Regions from separate parts of the Homo sapiens genome. Here regions 1 and 3 are each linked to region 2. Evidence: promoter capture Hi-C in human tissues and cell types (Jung and others, 2019). All regions are on one chromosome and are shown on one strand. The core of a region is centred on a gene start or on the middle of the fragment in contact, and the rest is flanking DNA. Distances in the headings are between cores, read along the strand shown.

Evidence for each region. The method cuts DNA at HindIII sites, captures the fragments that hold promoters and counts their contacts. A contact is called where the count stands out against the background at its distance.
Region 1: a fragment that was not itself captured here is called in contact with the fragment with the promoter of SLC26A2 in region 2 in 1 of the 25 tissues and cell types used here (mesenchymal stem cells).
Region 3: a contact is called between a fragment that was not itself captured here and the fragment with the promoter of SLC26A2 in region 2, in 1 of the 25 tissues and cell types used here (hippocampus).

The regions. Positions count from the first base shown.
Region 1 is chr5:149,702,836-149,705,535 of GRCh38, reverse strand. LOC105378224 (a long non-coding RNA gene) reads right to left here and starts at 2,419. Exons shown (of 3, transcript XR_944405.3): 1 at 2,204-2,419; 2 at 1,475-1,591. The HindIII fragment of the contact is 5,156 bases long and covers 1-2,700 here.
Region 2 is chr5:149,959,444-149,962,143 of GRCh38, reverse strand. It overlaps SLC26A2 (solute carrier family 26 member 2), which reads right to left and starts at 1,386. Exons shown (of 3, transcript NM_000112.4): 1 at 1,165-1,386. RefSeq lists a silencer at 1,331-1,450 and enhancers at 2,491-2,570, 2,367-2,700. The HindIII fragment of the contact is 6,337 bases long and covers 1-2,700 here.
Region 3 is chr5:149,522,535-149,525,234 of GRCh38, reverse strand. It overlaps CSNK1A1 (casein kinase 1 alpha 1), which reads left to right. Exons shown (of 10, transcript NM_001892.6): 3 at 64-190. Among named protein-coding and RNA genes, the nearest start is that of CSNK1A1, 28 kb to the left of the region's middle. RefSeq lists an enhancer at 1,594-1,763. The HindIII fragment of the contact is 4,187 bases long and covers 1-2,700 here.

The DNA of each region.
Region 1 (2,700 bases), core at 15-2,514, 260 kb after region 2:
AATAAATTTGAAAGGATTGAAATCATATATAGTATGTTCTCTAATAACAATGGAGTGAAATTAGAAATCAATGACAGAAATAAATTTGGGAAATTCACAAATATGTGGAAATTAAACAACACACTCCTAAAGAATCATTGAATTAAAAAAAATTCCAAGGCAAATTAGGAAAATCTTTTCAATGAATAAAAATGAAGACAAAATATATCAAAACACTTGGGATACAGCCAAATCAGTGCTTAGAGGGAAATTTACACCTACATTACAAAAAAGAAGAAAGATCTCTAATCAATAATCTTAAGACTGGAAAAAAAGCAGAGTAAACTAAACCTAGAACAAGCAGAAGAAATGAAATAATAAAGTTTAGAGCCAAAATTAATGAAATAGATGATAGAAAAATATCAAGAAAATCAAGGAAATTAAAAGTTGGTTATTCAACAAGATTAACAAAATTGACAAACCTTAATCTAGATGGATCAAGAAAAAAAGAGAGAAGATTCAAATTGTTAAAATCAGGAATGAAAAAGGGGGGATTATTACAGACCTTATATAAATAAAATGGATTATAAAGGATTACTATAAACAACTGTATGCCAACAAGTTAGATAATTTACATGAAATGGACAAATTCCTGGAAAGCCATAAAGTAGTAAAACTGTTTCAGGAAGAAATAGAACATCTGAATGACTTGAAACAAGTAAAAAGACGGAATTAGTAATCAAAAAACTACCCACAGAGAAAAGACCAGGACCAGAATTCACTAGTACATTCTACCAAATTTTTGAAGAATTCCTCACAAACTTCCAAAAAATAGAAGAGGAGGAAACACTTCCCACCTTATCCTGTGAAGCCAGTATTACTATGATACAAAAATCAGACCAAAACATCACACAAAAAGCACAGATCAATTTCATTTATGAATGTAGACAGAAAAATCTCAACAAAATACTAGTAAGCAGAACACAGCAATTTATCAGAAGAATTAGACACCATGACCAACTGGTAAATGTCCCAGAAATGCAAGATTAACATCTGAAATGTCAATTAATGTAATACACTTTGTCAATACAATAAAGGACAAAAACCACATGATCATTTCAATAGACGCGGAAAAAGCATTTGACAAAATTCAACACTTCTTCATAATAATAATAATAAAACTCAACAAAATAGGAATAGAAGGGAATATCCTTAACCTAGTAGAGGGCATCTATAAAAAGCCCACAACTAAATCATACTCAATGGTGAAAGACCAAGTGCTTCCCCCAAGACCAGGAACAAGATGATACCTATTCCCCCCTTTTCTATTCAACATTGTACTTGAGTTTCCTGCCGGGGCAATTAGGCAAGAAAATAAAATAAAAGGCACCCAGAATGGAAAGGAAGAGATAAAGCTATCTCTACTTAATTCACGTTTCGGACCAGTATCTCTTTGTCATGGTGGACATGAATTAATTCATTACAGCACACTTACTAATTGCCTTAAGAGATGCGACGTTTTGCACTGCGGACATAGAGATGAACCAACCAGTTGTGGGGCCTGCCCTTAAGCAGCTTCTAGACAGCTTGGGGAGATGAGGCCAACCAACATCTGTAAAATAAGGTGGAAAGTGACCAGAGTTACGTGCGGGCCCAGACGAGGAGAGTCTATTGGAGCTCAGAGGAAAGTTGAGGGGGTCACTTCTAGATAGGGCTGGATCAAGGGAGGCTTCTAGAGTTGGAGCATCAGAGCTGGGCCTTAAATGTTGGAGAGGATTTCATTAAGTTAACAGCATAACAAGAGCAAGGTTGCTCTTCCTAAAGGCCCACAGCATATTCAAGCACCAGGAACCCCAGAGTAGCTGCAGTGGGTAGTGAGTGAGGGAGAGCTGGGAGATGGTCTGTACAGGTGAACTGAAGCCTAGAATACCACACTAAGCGCTGAGGCTTCCGGCTGGAGTGAGGAAGCCTTGCATGGTGTTTGAGCACAGAGGAGACCTGGGCAGACACCACTGGGATAGGCATAGTCCTATGCTTCCTTCAAAAACTTGCTAGATGATAACATCTTCCGGAAAGCTTAATAAAATGGAGATCCCAGGCTCGGGTACAGGAAATGTCGATTGAGTCATTCTGGGAAGTGGTGTTGGGTGGCTGGGTGATGATAGCAGAGGGATAAGTCTGGTTTTGATCTGTGTTTCTCATATCAGGGCTGACCAAGCCTCACCTCATTCGGTCTAAGTCCTCTGTCCACTATGCGTGAAAACTTACGTCCTTCCGCTGTGTCGGGGGAGGGGTGGGAGATAAACAGAGCACCGGGATATTTCTGTGGTGTGATGCATAGGTGGGTCAATGGGGAAATGGCTCCTACCCTTGGTGACCCTAACCCCAGTGAACCCAGCCCAACACTCATGGGACGGTGGTCATTCCCTCTCTCCCTCCAGCCTTGTGGGTGCTGGAGAGAGGCAGCCTGGCCAACTGGGATGAACTTTGGCTTAGTGTTATCACTTTTCCTGAGAAACCCAAAGTGGCCAAGCAATTCAAAGGTCTTTTATGACCAGGAGAACAAAAGTCAGCCCCAGCCATTAGTTATTGATTACTCTTTGCCACACCTTGAGCAAGATCTTTGACCAGGTTTCACAGAGAGTGAAACTGAGGTCTCAGGGTTATTCCAACAGGCGGCTGTGATGCCAAGATGTCTTATCAAACTCTTAGGCAGGCGTG
Region 2 (2,700 bases), core at 137-2,636:
CTGAACGAGTGAGCTTAGGACCACACTTGGAGAATCACTGGATGTGTTCTGGAAGTCAAACAGATCTCTGTTCAGATCCCAGCTATACTGCTCAGCAGTCATATGGCAATGGTTTTGTAAAACTTCACTGTACTCAGCATCAATTTCTGACCTGTAAAATGGGGTAACATTACCTAACTTGCTGGTTTGTAAGGCTAACACAACTACCTACCACAGTGCCTGGCACATAGCATTTACTCAATAAACGACAGCTATTAGTCTCTGTCCCTTGCTATATCCTGCCTTGAGATTCCTGATTTTAAAGGGTCCATTCCTTTCCCACAGCTTTGGCCCTCCATTTCTTATTGATTCAATTTTCAAAAACAAAAAGTTCTGCTTAATCTAGTATTGCATATCACATTAGTTGTAGATTTCACATAAAGAACTGTTGGGGACAAGGAGAAAAGACAGGTTAACTAGAATGGGCGCCGGAAGGCAATTTAAGTTCTGAATGTTTCTAACTCACTGTGATCCCCAATCTGTGCAAGGAAGGAGCCCAGGCTGATAGTCTATGAGTTTGGAGAGCTGGGTACAAGTCCTAGCTCTGCAAAAGACTTGCTGTGTATTTTTAGGCAAGGCTCTGGGCCCTCTCTGTCTTCTCAGTGTTTCCATCCATCCAGTGAAATAATACCAACTTAGTGTGTGAGTCCGAAAGAACAGGTCCTGATTTTGTACTTAATCGGGTGTGTGATTTTTAATAACCAAGATAACCAAGCCGTCTCGCCTGTGCCGGCCTCAGTTTCCCCATCTGTCCGAGGTGGTGGTGGCTCCTATCTCCTCGATCCCTATTCCAGATATCTAGGTTCGAGACGGATCAACGAGGACTGGAAAAGCAGCGGAGTGCGTGGCACCCGGCGAGATACGGCGAGATACGCGGGATGGAGGGCGGGTGGGCAGCCGCCAGCCAGACGGGCAGGCCCGGATCACCAGGGTGCAGTGCCACTCGCCCGGCCCCGGACCACCCGGGAAATAACCTGACGCACGCCCCGCTCCACGGCGGCGACCCCTGATCTGGGATTCTACCGCGCGGGGACCCAGGCAGAATGACTCTGGGAGGGGCCCGCTGACCGCTTGGCGGCCAGCACCGCTCCCTCCCTCTTCCCTGGTCCGCTTCCCTCTTCTCACCTCTCGGGTCCGGGCCGCTGCAGGCAACCAGGCGCCGCGGCACGCGTCTTCCACCGTGGCCTGACTGAGGTGGACACCGCGGCGCCGACAGAGCTATACCTGCCTGTCCCTTTCCCCGCCCATCGCTCGGACTCCGAAGGAGGCGGGGCCCGGCTGCCGGGACCTACGGGCGCGGCGAGGACGCACCGGCGAAGAGATGCCGGAGGCAGAGCCAGTGTAAACGCCCGCGGCCGAGGCCGTCACGTGGTACTGCCGGGCGAGCGACGCTACCACCAGCCAATAACTCGGCCCAGACCGGGGAGGGTGCCGCCCTCTGACTACTCTCCTCCTCGCGATTGGCTGCCCTGGACAGAAGAGCACAAGCTGGAAGGATTCTTAGAGAGGTTCCGCCGCTGCTTCCGTGGCGTTGACTCCTCCGCGGAGAGAGCGGATGACCGGCCTCGGCGGCTAGCCTGTGGCCAGGGTGAAATAGCAGGAGAGGCGCGGAAGCGCTCTGCCCAGAGTTTTGAAGTGCTCAGCGTTTGCGATCGGCCACCTCTTTATCCAGTACTACTTGGGACCCCGTTCCCTCCCACCCGCCTTTGTAGAACGGGAAATTGAGGCCCCGAACGGGAAAAGAGCTCCTAGAATGTTAGAGGCTCTTGCCTCACTATAACTCATTCCCCATCAAAGATTCCAGTAACCGGAAGGCTAAAATGTAAATTAAAAGGCCGGGCGCAGCGGCTCACGCTTGTAATCCCAGCACTTTGGGGGACCGAGTAGGGAGGATCGCTTGAACCCAGGGGTTCGAGATCAACCTGGGCAGTATAGCCGAACCTTGTCTCTATAAAACATAAAATGTAAATTAAAATGTAATTGTAGTTTTTGTTAAAATCCTTAGTGGGTTTAATGGCATTTGTAGGTAAAATCAAACCCTCCCTATGCCAAGGTACTGTGTGCTTCGGGCACTCATCTCTGCCCCCCTCCCTCGCTGATCTCCACCCATACTGGCCCCCTTTGCTCGCCACGCTTGTTCTCTTTAGGGACCTAAACATTGGTTCTGGCCATCAGATTTCTTCTGGTCTCTCAGGTCTCAGCCAAAACACCAGCCCTCTCCATGGCGAGGCCGTCCCTGACCACCCTGTGTAAACTAGCCACAGCCAGTCACATCCTTTCAGGTCATCTTGATTTAATTATCTGCCTCGAACTGGCCACTATTGAGTATGTATTAATTTGTTCATTCCTCACCTTGTTTGTAGCTTGCATGTGCCCACTAGATGGGGGTGAAGGAGGGCCTGTGAAGGAAGCATGATTAACTTCCTTTCCTTCCCTTTCCGGTGAACGTCTTCACAGTCATTCAAGGAACTCCCTTTCTTATCTAGAGATGATCCCCAAGTTTCTGTCACCCATCAGATTCAGAGTTTCCAAAACGTCATAAGCTGTCTTGGGAATCAGAACACAAACACTTGGGTTCTACTCCTGATGCTGCCCCTTGTGGCTGAAGACAAATCATTTCACCTCAATGGGCATCAATGTTTTCACCTTTCAAAGGGTAGT
Region 3 (2,700 bases), core at 55-2,554, 440 kb after region 2:
AGGGTTGATGATATTAAGTAATAGCTTTTTGTAATATCCTCTCTTCTCCTTTTGTTTCGTTAGGTGGTATGGTCAGGAAAAAGACTACAATGTACTAGTCATGGATCTTCTGGGACCTAGCCTCGAAGACCTCTTCAATTTCTGTTCAAGAAGGTTCACAATGAAAACTGTACTTATGTTAGCTGACCAGGTATGTGAAATTTTGATTAGAATATAAACTGAGACTAGTACTGTTGACTGGAATTTCATTATTCATAAATCAGAGTATTAAAATCCTGTGCATCACTATTTAACCTTAGCATAGGCAGAAAAAAAATAATAATGTGACTTGTAGATATTTTCCTATGGGAATAAGACAAAACCTGGAATTATCTTGGTTTCTTACTCATCTGTAGACTAGTAGTTTTCAATCTGCTCCTTCAGATGAAGTTTTAGTGTCATATGTAGCAGGTTATTGTAAGATTTTGTTTGGAGAGTTTAGAGTGTATGTATGCATATAATTGTTGATAAATGTTTATTGACATTTTGGTTAAATTAAGCAAAATTGAATATTATGTATTATGTGTGGGACTCTTAGAAAAGCTATATTTTTGAGGATAAAAAGGTCCTGAAGTAATATAAGGAAGAATTTTTTGACCAAGTAGATGCTGCTTGGAGTAATGGATTCTCAACCATTTGTGTTACTTAAGACCTAGGAAATTTTGGTGATGTCATGAATTAGATTGATGCATTGGCTGTAGGTTAGATTAAATGGTTTTTACAGCCAAAGTTTGGATATTTCGATCTTAAGAAATGAGAAAGATGAGTAAGGAACAAACCTTAAGGGAAAAGATAATACATTAAGGTAATGATTGGTAAATATCAAGACATGTATAATTTTTTGTTTTGATCAGTATTTGTTACCTTTAAGGGCAGGAAAATGCTGGAAATGCTTTAAGTTAAACTCAGTGTGCTTATAAAAATACTATGAAGAGAATGACATTTAAAAATATAATGGAGGGTTTGTGACAGCTCTCTAGTCCAGATTTGCCTATCACATAAAAAGGAAGAGGGAAAATAACAGAAGAAAATAAAATGAGGAAAAGGGAAAGGAGAACACAGGTTATTTGTTTTATCACTTACCTTTATTTACTTTATCACTTACCTTTTAATACTATTATTTATGTATTACCCAAAGCATCACTGTGAGCTTCTTTCAAGTAAATGTCATAAAGTAAAATGAGATAAACAGACATGGTATTTGAGGTGGAATTTTAGTAAGTTTGTAAATTCAGAGGGATGAAGAGAAGTAGGTTAATGGGCACAAAAATACAGTTAGGAGGAATAAGTTCTAGTATTACATAGTATAGTAGGGAAATTATAGTTAACAATAGCTTATCGTTTATTTCAAAATAGCTAGAAGAGTAGAATTGTAATGTTCCTAACACAAAATATAAATGTTTGAAGTAATGGATATCCCAACTACCCTGATTTGATAATTACACATTGTATACATGTAACAAAATATCACACATACCCCATAAATATATACAACTATTATAGATCAATGAAAAAACTTTGTCTATAATTCCAAGGATTAGAAAGTAGTGCCCATTTTCTGTAATCAGCACCTGATACTCCCCAAGCTTCTTAACCTTAAAAGTACTCAGTGGCTCAAGCAAATGTGAGCAAATTGTGATATTTGTGGCACAAAACAAACTCAAGCATTAAAAGGTTAAAAGTGGCGCGGCACACTGGCTCACGCCTGTAATCCAGCACTTTGGGAGACCAAGACACGAGGATCTCTTGAGCCCAGGAGTTCCAGGCTACAGTGAGCTATAATAATGCCACTGCACTCCAGCCTGAGCAATAGAGCAAAGACCCCATCTCTTTTATGTTAACAGCCTTTAATGTGGGCTGGGTTTGGTGGCTCATGCCTACAGTCCCAGCACTTTTGAGAGGCCAAGGCCGGTAAATCACCTGAGGTCAGGAGTTCGAGACCAGCCTGGCCAACATAGTGAAACCCATCTCTACTAAAAGTACAAAAATTAGCCAGGCGTGGTGGCTGACACCTGTAATCCCAGCTACCCGGGAGGCTGAGGCATGAGAATCACATGAACCCAGGAGGTGGAGATTGCAGTGAGCCGAGATCGCACCACTGCACTCCAGCCTGGGGGATAGAACGAGACTCTGTCTCAAAAAAAAAAAAAGCCTTTAATATGTTTTAACTAACATATATGAGTGAATCCTAATAAAAGAGTTATGGCTTATGTTTTTGTTTGTTCAGTAACACGTAAGCATCCATACATTGAACATGTATTGAGAGCCTACCACTGTACTTAGTGCTGGGGGTTGGGGTGGCAAAAAAATAAGAATTAGTCTCTTCCCTCTAGAAAGAAACTTAGAGTCTAATAAAGAAAGATGGAAAAATAAGATGTTCCATCCTTGTTGTAGAGTTGTAGAAGTCTCTGTTGGGTACACGGGTAACAAATGTGAAAAAATATAATTCTGAGGAAGGGAGATACAAGAAAGCTTTCATTTAAGGTAGTTGACACCTAAGTCTTGCTCTGTGGTTGACAGGTAACAGGTGTAAGTTGTTCAAGCCAGAGATTACTAGTTTGGCTTCAGAAGACATTTGTCAAGGTAGAAGAGTACAATTTAGAATCTGTGTATTCATGATAATAAAAGCTCTGGGGAAAATGGGGACAAATAAAAAATAGA